Linked DNA regions of Homo sapiens: regions 1 and 2 are each linked to region 3. The links are contacts of gene promoters, found by promoter capture Hi-C in human tissues and cell types (Jung and others, 2019). All regions are on one chromosome and are shown on one strand. Each heading gives the region's core, a stretch centred on a gene start or on the middle of the fragment in contact. The rest is flanking DNA. Distances are from core to core; before and after follow the strand shown. Region 1 overlaps COL6A3 (collagen type VI alpha 3 chain). Region 2 has its middle 97 kb from the start of COL6A3. Region 3 holds the start of COPS8 (COP9 signalosome subunit 8).

The links. Contacts are between HindIII fragments. The study calls those that stand out against the background at their distance.
Region 1: a contact is called between a fragment that was not itself captured here and the fragment with the promoter of COPS8 in region 3, in 1 of the 25 tissues and cell types used here (bladder).
Region 2: a contact is called between a fragment that was not itself captured here and the fragment with the promoter of COPS8 in region 3, in 2 of the 25 tissues and cell types used here (IMR-90 fibroblasts and aorta).

What each region holds. Positions count from the first base shown.
Region 1 is chr2:237,335,886-237,339,468 of GRCh38, forward strand. It overlaps COL6A3 (collagen type VI alpha 3 chain), which reads right to left. Exons shown (of 44, transcript NM_004369.4): 39 at 3,130-3,232; 40 at 250-647. Among named protein-coding and RNA genes, the nearest start is that of COL6A3, 76 kb to the right of the region's middle. RefSeq lists enhancers at 1-398, 399-899. The HindIII fragment of the contact is 4,175 bases long and covers 1-3,583 here.
Region 2 is chr2:237,315,138-237,318,512 of GRCh38, forward strand. No RefSeq gene overlaps it. Among named protein-coding and RNA genes, the nearest start is that of COL6A3, 97 kb to the right of the region's middle. RefSeq lists enhancers at 1-1,493, 93-693. The HindIII fragment of the contact is 4,187 bases long and covers 1-3,375 here.
Region 3 is chr2:237,083,738-237,087,138 of GRCh38, forward strand. COPS8 (COP9 signalosome subunit 8) reads left to right here and starts at 2,152. Exons shown (of 8, transcript NM_006710.5): 1 at 2,152-2,305; 2 at 3,390-3,401. The coding sequence starts at 2,228. It overlaps COPS8-DT (COPS8 divergent transcript), which reads right to left and starts at 2,084. Exons shown (of 3, transcript NR_187934.1): 1 at 419-2,084. RefSeq lists enhancers at 1,198-2,092, 1,733-2,282, 2,093-2,987. The HindIII fragment of the contact is 6,775 bases long and covers 1-3,361 here.

The DNA.
Region 1 (3,583 bases), core at 558-3,057, 250 kb after region 3:
GTGCCCCCACTGACATTCCAGAGAGAATGAGAGCTTCCCATCCCTATCGCAAGACAGGATTGAGGGCACAGGATGGGGAGTGGGAGGCTGGAATCCCTAACCAACACCTCTTAAAATACATCATCCAGGTGTACAAGCCCAGATCAAGGACTGTATTCTGAGTGTGTTACATGCAGGCTTTGAGGAACACACCCTGGAGCAGGAAATGAGGATGTCACAAGATGGCAGCCCTAGCAAGGGCTTTCTTACCCATGGGCTTAGTGGTGGCTGGCTTGGTGGCAGCTGGTTTGGCTGCCTGTGGCCTAGGGACCTCAGGCTTGGTCGCCACTGGTTTTGCAGCAGCAGCAGCGGGGGGTCTTACAGCTGCTGGCTTTGCTGCTACAGGCTTCGCTGCCGTTGCTGGCTTCACCGCCACTGGGGGTCTAACAGTGGCCATCTTTGTGGCCACAGGCTTGGCAGCCACAGGTTTCGCAGGGGCCGGCTTTGCAGCGGCTGGCTTCACAGATGGCTGATTTATAATAGTCACAGGCTTTGTTGTGGTGGTTACAGGCTTTGTTGTGGTGGTCACCGGCTTCGTCGTAGTCACCGGCTTCGTTGTCGTCACTGGGTTGGATGTAGGACTTGAAGTAACGTTATTCGGAACATTTCTGTTAAGACAAATTAAATATTACCTCTACTTTTACCTGCTATCTAAAATAAATAAAGACATAACCCCATGAGCTACATTAAATTTGTTTTAGCAAAATGCATGCAATAGTTTTTATAGATTATGTATAGCAGTGCATATATTAAATTCCTTCTTTTAAGGATCTGTGCCTCCCTAAAAAAAGATATGGAACAGCATATTGAAAAATAGAACCATTAAAAATGAAGCTTATATTGTTCTACAAAAACATCTTTCAATTTCTAAAATAAAGGCAGAGAGAAAATAAGAGACAATAATGAATAATATCCAACAATGTTCTCATTATAGCAATTAACCAACCAAAACATACACCAAAAATTAAATGAAATCAGTAGTTAGCTACTTACATTATAAGAAAATATCCACTCAATCAAATGCTATGTTGAGCTGGAAAATTATAAAGTTAGCATGTACTATTTTGCTCCCAGGGCTTATTACTGGGAGTATATATATTTTTTATTTCTCTTAATTTTTGTGTATGTGTATTTTTTTTTACAATTTCTTGATCTATTACCAATATCTAGAGAGAATAGCAGCCTAATCAAACAGACATAACAACAAGGACCCACACTTCATAGCTTTCTTGATCTTAGAAGAAAATATATTATTTTATAGTCATATCTTGCTACTTGTCCTAGGAAGTATTAATATATTTTCAAGTTAATATCATAAGACTTCAAATACTAGGTTACTTCATTCATTCTGTTTTCCTAAAGATAAAAAGGTTGAGCCAATTTCAGGGAAGGTTTCAGAGAAAAAATACGAATCATTAGAGCCTAGAAAAATGGAGGCTACAAAGCTAAATGAAGCATCCAGTGCCACGATAAGGGTCCTAGTGGCCTTAGCAATGATATTCATTCTTGCTATGCTGAGATTTAAAGCCACTCCTTCTGAGGTCAAAAGAAAGAGCTGAAGGACTTAAGTGGTGATAGACAGAAGGGTCTGCAGTAGGAAGAGATGGGCTCTCTTTCCCCATCTTGAGAGTCAGCTAGTCGTAAGCCAGATAGTCATTTTTCAAGGATCATTTGCGTTCACATCTCATCTGTGTACGAAGTTCAGAATCTGCAGAATCTGCACTTCCCTCCAAAGCATGACACACTGTGACATTCTCTTAAGGAGCACACATTGCTGACACGCTGCAGGGGCTCAGTTCTTGCAGCCACATCACCCCAGCTAGCCCTCTGTTACATGCCCCCACTGCCCTCTTTGCTCCTAGGGTTGGCACCCGAGATGGAGCAGGGCATGAAACACGGCACATGGGCCAGGCAGCAGCATCGGCATGGGTGCCACAGTCCTGCCCACTCCCACCCCTCCCGTCAGTCTTCATAGAACATGCACATGACTTCCTATTATTACCATCATTACATGTTATCACAGCATTAATAATTTTAAGAAGACATGGAGTCTATTTTTTGATGTATCCAATCCTTCTTTTACGTAATCATTTCACACCAGATACGGTAAATTGTTTGGAACTATGGTCTCAATTATCTACCTTCTCTCTGCCCATGCCCTTTCAATGTAATGTGGCAAGTCCTTCCATCAAGCCTAGTTTTCCATTCTTAAATCTAGGTTAGCCTTTGGACATGCTTTGGTCAATAGAACGTGGCAGAAGTAACAGTGTGCCAGTTCTAACCTAGGTCACAAGAGGCCTTGCACACTTGTCTTCTCTCAGGGAACCCTGCCAGGTCACCTGGTGAACAAACCCAAGCTAGCCTGCTGAGAATGAGAGACCACATGGAGCAGAGATGAGCCAGCCCATCTGAGACCACTCTAGACCAGCAGCTCTATAGCTGACAAGCAGCTGACCACAAACATAAGGGATCCAAGGAGAAAACAGAAGAACCACCCAGTTGAGCCCAAACAAAAATTGCTAACCCACAGAATTGCAAATTAAATAAGTGGTTGTTGGCCAGGCCCAGTGGCTCATGCTTATAATCCCAGCACTTTGGGAGGCTGAGGCAGGCAGATCATTTGAGTTCAGGAGTTCTAGACAAGGCTGGACAACATGGCGAAACCCCATCTCTACTGAAAAAAAAATACAAAAATTAGCCAGGCATGGCTGCATGCACCTGTAGTCCCAGCTACTCGGGAGGCTGAAGCATGAGAATTGCTTGAATCCAGGAGGCAGAGGTTACAGTGAGCCAAGATTGCACAACTGCAGTCCAGCCTGGGCAACACAGCAAGACTCTGTCTCTAAATAAATTAAGTAAGAAAATAAATAGGTGGTTGTTGTTTTAAGCCACTAAGTTTTGGGTAGCTTGTTACATGGCAAAAGCTAACTGATAAAACAGATTATTTGAGAAGCATGACCCACATTACCTTTGGGAAGTCACATTTTCTGGATTTCAAGGTCCTCATCCCATAAAGTCAGGAGGTGGTTGGAGGACCTGTGCATTCCCTGCAGCGCTACAATTTTTAAGACAATAATTATAATCACTTACACTTGTTTGTGACCAAACTTCACAAGGTTCTTTGTGGGTTGGTCCCCTTGGAACCAATCACACTGTTTCCTGATATCTGGGGACAAGTAAAAAGCATTTTCACCTAAAGAAAAAAAACAAAGAAAACAATTGAACCGCATGCTAATAACATGAAAATTAAAATTAATCTGTCAACAAGTTAAATGAATCACATAACATTTATTTAGCCCATAATTATTGTTGAATTAACTATATCAGACAAACTATGTCCAGTGATTTTAAACATAAAGTATGATGGCATTGGATCCATAAAACATGGTAAGCCAATATGTTCTATTTGGCAATATTTGGGTGATTAAGTTAAAGATATATTTATCCAACATGAGAGAGAAGACAGGGATAGAAGAAAAATCAAGTGGAGAGTTCAACAAGTTCTAGACTCTTGGACATCAGATTATAATGCAACTGCTTTTCA
Region 2 (3,375 bases), core at 42-2,541, 230 kb after region 3:
GTGCCCTTTCTCTGTACATCAACAATTAATTTGGGTTGGGGTTTGAGTAACAACTTCAGCCAAACAAGGGAATCAGCTGAGTCCTGATGAGGCTCCGCAGACAGTGCCTCCACTTCCACAGAAGACAGCCAGGCTGCGCGGCAGAGCCTGCTGAGCTGCACCCCGCTATTTTTAGTGCTGCTCTCTGCCACGCTGGCGAGGCTGTCCTGCTCAGTGGCAGGCAATGCGTTCCATGTGTGCAGGCTGGAATGCAGCGGCTGAACCAAGGCCAGCAGCAGAGCCTGTTTCCTTAAAAGGCAAGAGAAATTCAGATCACATGGCCACAGGGACAGGAGCATGGATCCTGGGACAGGAACGGATTTCCATCCTAGAGAGCTCTTCAGGGGCAAGTGAACTAACAGAGATCTGCTTATGAACGTGCTGTAGGTGAAAATGGATTTTTATATTGAAATTCAAATAAGTACAGGGATTTGAGCCGATTGTTCCATTGCATTCCGGTCGTCTCAGGAAAAGAGGTCCCTGTGTGATTTATTTGTGGCAGAGACCCTAGAGCCACTCATATAAATTCCCCTCAGACACTGACTTCACAAATCAAAGCTGTTTGGCCAGCTGGTTACAGCCTGATGTTAAGCAGACTCAGGCCTCAGCTCAAGCTTCTCCCAGGGCAACCTCGTGGAAAGAAACAGTTTTCTGAATATATTCTAAAACAGACTAGAATAGAATAGAATAAAACAGAATTAGAATATATTCTAATTTGAGACCTTTATTCTGAATATCATTAAACACGCATAAGTTTTTTCTGGAAACGGTTAATATTTATCTTTCTTATCCTGAAGTTGCATCTTACACTGAGTAGCATTCGTTCCCCCGCCCCATGAGGTGGGAAATTCAACAAACGACTCATTGTGTATAGATAAGGGCCAGGCAATCTATTGCCAAAGTCCTCTTTTGCCTCACAGAAAAACAAAGATAGAGACACTCTTGAGGTCCTTCTGCACAGCCCTAAACTTGTACTCAATCTTCGTACTGTTTTCCAAATCACTGTCTTAGGTCACAAGCATTAGACCTGGCCCAGGAATTAATGAAGGCCACCAGCAAATGAAGAAGACAGGAAAAAAGTGTGGTTAGGATGATGGGCACAGACCCCCAACATTCAAATCTAGACAGTCAGCAAAGTCATGTCTAGTTGAGGCAGTCAGGTTGACAGTCACATAAGGACCCAGTTTTCCTGTCCCACAGTGAGGAAACCACAATAGACTTTACGTGTCATTAAGTCTTATTACTTTAAGTGCTTCCCTTAAACAAAAACTAGAAAGCTTTGTTTCTGTTGTTTTGCCTCTTTTGGAAACTGTCAAGGGAGTTAGTAGGGAAGGTGATGCCTATACCTATGCCTATATAGGGTGAACTACAGACTCTTAAATGTCACTGATGACTGTGTGTCATGGCTGCATACACATGAACTTATACGGGAGCAGTGATGAACGCAGTCCTCCCATATCCTCCCCACCACAGCCCTCAGGTTCCCGCGTCTCTCCACAGGGGTGGGCTTAATTAACCTAACAGGGGTTCCGGTTGTTTTTGTTTTTTGTTTTTTGTTTTTTTGACGAAGTCTTGCTCTGTCACCCAGGCTGGAGTGTAGTGACATGATCTGGGCTCACTGCAATCTCCACCTCCTGGGTTCAAGTGATTCTCCTGCCTCAGCCTCCCAAATAGCTGGGATTATAGGCATGCACCACCACGCATGCATGGCTAATTTTTGTATTTTTAGTAGACGGGATTTCACAATGTTGGCCAGGCTGGTCTCAAACTCCTGACCTCAGGTGATCCACGGATTCTATTCTTATTCCCAACATTGGCTTAGAGGCATGCAACCCATTTCCAACCAATGGACTGCCAGGGGACATCTGCCAGGGAGCTTTCTGGAGAAAAGCCACAGAAAGGATGGTCTTCCTTCTTCCTTTAAATATCATTGTGTCCACATGAGACTTGTTACTAGCCTAAGAGTGGGGCCCAAGCTGAAAATAGTCCAGAGAGATGGGAAAACCTGGGTCCTTGATGGCATCTTTGACTCCTCCCACAGCCTGTGCTCTGGATTTCTGTGAAATGGGGACAACCAGTGACTTCGTGATCTAAGCCAATGCGAGATGGGGTTTCAGTTCCTGGCTGCTGAGAGCATCCTAACTCACTACATACCACAGCCCCAAGAATACTCTCTCCTTCCTGCTCTCTGTTTTCTAAACCATGAGCAGCATTCAGCACAGGTGACTGCTCTGTTCATTTTGACACAGCTTCTGCCAACGCTGTCCTTGCATGACACCTGTCTCTACTGATTCTCTTCTTATTTCTACAAACACTCCTCCTCAGCCTCTTTCACCAAGCCTGTCTTCTCTGCTCAACCTCTAACCGCCAGGGCACAGACAGGCCTCTCCTGACTCCCTGTCCCTCTTCATCTATACTCTCAAGCAATGAAATCGCACCATAAATCTAGGCTTCGAATATGGTATATTTCCAAACTGCTGAATGTATATCCTTAGCCCCACCCTCTCCTCTGAACTTCAACTGTCTTCCTCATATCACCGCTTCAAAGTTCAATAGCATCCTAAGTTCTAATACGCATGGCAGAATTTTTGATTGACTACCCCGCCTCCTCAAAGAATCACATGTCACACCCAGGACTGCCCGGCTTAAAGCTCCCAATGGCTTTCCATCACATTAAAGTACAATCCACAACTCGTTAGTTATGAAAGAGTTTTGGGGCCTGACTTGGCCATTCTCTCTCAGACTTCAACTCCAAAAATTTATCCGCTTATTTGTTTGACTCCAGCCACACTGGCCATCTTGCTGTTTCTCAAACATGTCACAGTCATTTCTCTACCCAGGATCTCAGATCCAGGCCCTCTCTGGATCTGGAATCTTCCTTCAGGTCTTCCCAAAGGTGGCTGTCTTGGGATTTTTTGTTGTTTGTTTTTTGTTTCTTGAGACAGAGTCTTGTTCTGTTACCAGGCTGGAGTGCAGTGGTGCGATCTCGGCTCACTGCAACCTCTGTCTCCCAGGTTCAAGCAATTCTCCTGCCTCAGCCTCCCTACTAGCTAGGATTACAAGCATGTGCCACCATGCCCAGCTAATTTTGTTGTTGTTGTTGTATTTTTAGTAGAGAGGTTTCACCATGTTGGCTAGGCTGGTCCTGAACTCCTAAGTGATCCACCTGCCTCGGTCTCCCTTGGTGCTGGGATTACAGACGTGAACCACCGTGCTGGCCTCTCTTGGTTTTTTTTTTTTTTTTTTTTTTTTAGCTCATAAATCAACTCTTCAGAAAGGCTTGCCTTAAACATGCAGTACCTCATCAGACAGCCTCCACTGCAGCTCACACGTCCT
Region 3 (3,401 bases), core at 902-3,401:
CTGTAAACTTGTGGTTTGTAAGTGAGGTCCATTAAGACAATGGAGCATGAGCCAGGGAAACGGGCCTCTACGTGTGGCCACTGATGTTCCATACAGCATTCATAATGCACCATGCACACTGAATTCCCTGTGGACCCCTGATGTTGCGAGGCCAGCAAGACTCAAAGTGAGCACAAGGTACTCGTGCTGTATCTACAACTGAGGGAGCTGGGTGCTGACACCCCAAAAGGCCGCACTTTTCCCCTTAAGAGAGTAAACTTGTTTCGAAGGCAGAAAGAAGGCAATGGTGTCTTAAGAAGCATGAAGAAACCATATTGTATGAGTCATGGTTCTCTAGAGGGACAGAACTAATAGGATATATATATTTATATATATATATATAGAGAGAGAGAGAGGAGTTTATTAAGTATTAACTCACATGATCACAAGTCCCACAATGGGCAGTCTTCAAGCTGAGGAACAAGGAGAGCCAGTCCAAGTCCCAAACTGAAGAACTTGGAGTCTGATGTTCGAGGGCAGGAAGCATCCAGCGTGGGAGAAAGATGTAGGCTGGCAGGCTAGGCCAGTCTCTCTTTTCGCATTTTTCTGTCTGCTTTACATTTCTAGCTGCACTGGCATCTGATTAGATGGTGTCCATCTAGATTAACAGTGGGTCGAACTTTCCCAGCCCACTGACTCAAATGTTAATCTCCTTTGGCAACACCCTCACAGACACACCCAGGATCAATACTTTGCATCCTTCAATCCAATCAAGTTGACAGTCAGTATTAACCATCACTCATATCATATATTTTCTTATTCATGCACTTCTTTATATTAGACACCTGATCATGCCAAAAGGCCAGTCCATAGTTCTTTTGCTTTTCAGTCCTTCCTTACGCATCGGTGAGTCCCAGGTCGAGAGTAGAGGTAGAATTCGTGCACGTAAAGTGCGATGAAAACGGGCAAGTTCACTTTGTGCAGCATCTGTTTTTACCAGCGTGGTTCTGGTAAAAACAAAATCTATATGCATGTATAAGCTATGAAGTACAAATTGCATAATTTCTGTGATTCCACATATGAGATCAGTGCACTTATATTAGTATTTAAAACTGGCATTGCACAACGTAAAGATGGATGGTGAACTTCATGCTAACAATTTAAATCTAAATTTTTCTTGGAATGATATTAAATAACACATAAAAACACTATGAAAAGAGAGAAACTGAGAGGAAAGAGAAAGTTTTATATTTTATGACCTCAGAGGCACTTTCTTTCTGTTTTTTGAACAAGGAAGCTCCGCACTTTTCTCTGAGCTCCACAAATTATGCAGCCAGCCTTGCAGCAGGCAACACATCAAAGCCTCTTTCCTGGGGGTCTAGTGAGGGATGTAAAACACAAATATGTTAATAATATACAATATAATGTCACTAACAGTAAGTGCTGTGCTAAACAAAAGCCAGGATGGCTACAGCAAGCCGGAGGGGAGCTGAGAATTAGATGTAAATTCTGAGGGATGGGAAGGGCCCTAGATTTTAGGGCGTTGTGCAGAAGAGTAACCAGATCTGCTCTACGTTTCAGGAAAGGAAAAAAAAATTCCCTCTGGCTGCGGTTCCGAGAATAGCCTGGAAGGAGGCAGGGGTCCCGGCTGGAGAAGCGTGGCTCCGGGGTGGGGCGTGCAGGGCTAGCCCGGGCGGGGGACGCTGCCCAACAAGCAGGTTTGCGGAGACTCACACCTTAGATTCTGAGTTTTTAAGCTTGTTTCCTCAGAGCAGGGAACTCACGAACGTTTCGTGAGCACCTACGGTATGCAGGGTACGGTGCGGAGCCCTAGCGTCACTGACGACCGGGACAGCCGAGCAGCTGCAGGATCCGTCGTGTTCCCCAGCAATTTTAATATTTAAAAATTCGTTACTGTTGCTGTTACTTGTTTTCTATGTATTGGATGTCTTCGTGAAGAACCCTCAAAAGTGCAACGAACTCCTCCCTGCCAGAGGGCGGCCGCGCGCTCTGAGTACAGCTTCCCGCGGAGCCGGCCAGGTCCTCCAGGGCACCGAGAAAGCCGGCCAGAACGGCGGCGCCCTATCCCGGCCGCAGCGATGTCTGACGGCGCCCCGGAACTGACGGTCTGGTACGCAGGGGCGCTCGGCGGCAACGGCGGCTTTAAACGTCATCGCGGGCGCGACGCCTGAGGGACAGTCTGGGGTTTGGCTGTCCGGACGGTGCAGCGGCGAGGCCGGCCGCGAAGATGCCAGTGGCGGTGATGGCGGAAAGCGCCTTTAGTTTCAAAAAGTTGCTGGATCAGTGCGAGAACCAGGAGCTCGAGGTAACCCTTTGCGTCGCGCTGGGAGAAACTGCGGAGTAGTCTTAGGCCCTGGGGCGGCACCAGTTTCCAGGGTAACGGGGTCTGAGGCTAGCGGGCTTTGGGAGCTCACGGGGCGGGCGTGGGAGGTGGACGTGTGGATCCCTGACCGCCGCAACCTGCTCCGACCGGGCCCGGTCTCCCCGAACTCGCCGGGACCTTTTTGTTATGTGTCTTCAGCTTGTGAGCCCGAAAACCCTGTGCGTCTTTGCTCCAGCACCTACCGATGAGCTCATATTAATTAGGCATCTTTCCTTCCCAGTATCGGGTTGGGAGAGGGTAGTAAAGTGGGTTTTATTAAAGATCTTGGTATACACACACACACTAACACACACACCGCAACTCACACGCACACCAAGAAAAATGTGACCATTGTAACCTTTTTTTAACTCACAAAGCCTTTCTCGTAATGTTGTCAAGTTAGCTTGCCATTTTGTCTTCAGTAAGACAGATGAAAGTTATGCAGCTGTTAAAGTTAATGTTTTTCTTAGACACTTAAAAAGGGTTTATATCATTAGTTTTAAAATTAAATAAAGGAGACAACATCCAGAAGCAGCAGCTCACTAATAGATAATAGATACTTTCCAGTTGAGTTAAAATGGAAAGAATTGTCTTTGCAACGCAGCTGTGGTGATTTTCTGTCTCTTATTCAGGACGCTTGATGTAATGGGCAGAATCAGAATGCTTCAGGAATCTGTCGAATTTGTTTCTTATAATAGTAAGATCATTTAAATGGGAATTTGAGAACTGGGGAAGGGGATCCACTTACATATTCTTGAATGTATAAAGAAACTGAAGCCCAAAGGGAGATAAATCAAAGCTGATGACGAATATAAACTTAATACTCAGAATTTTCGTGTTTGATACTTCTCTAAGCTGTTTCTAAATCTATAATAGGACTATAAGATTACTTATAGTCTTAGACTAAAAAGGCTTACTTTTAAAATTAGCATTTATAAAATATTATTTTAAAAATGAAAGTTAAAGGGTAAATGAGGTTTTTAAAATTTTGTGTTGTTTTGTTTTGTTTTCATTTTTGGCCTTCTAGGCCCCTGGAGGA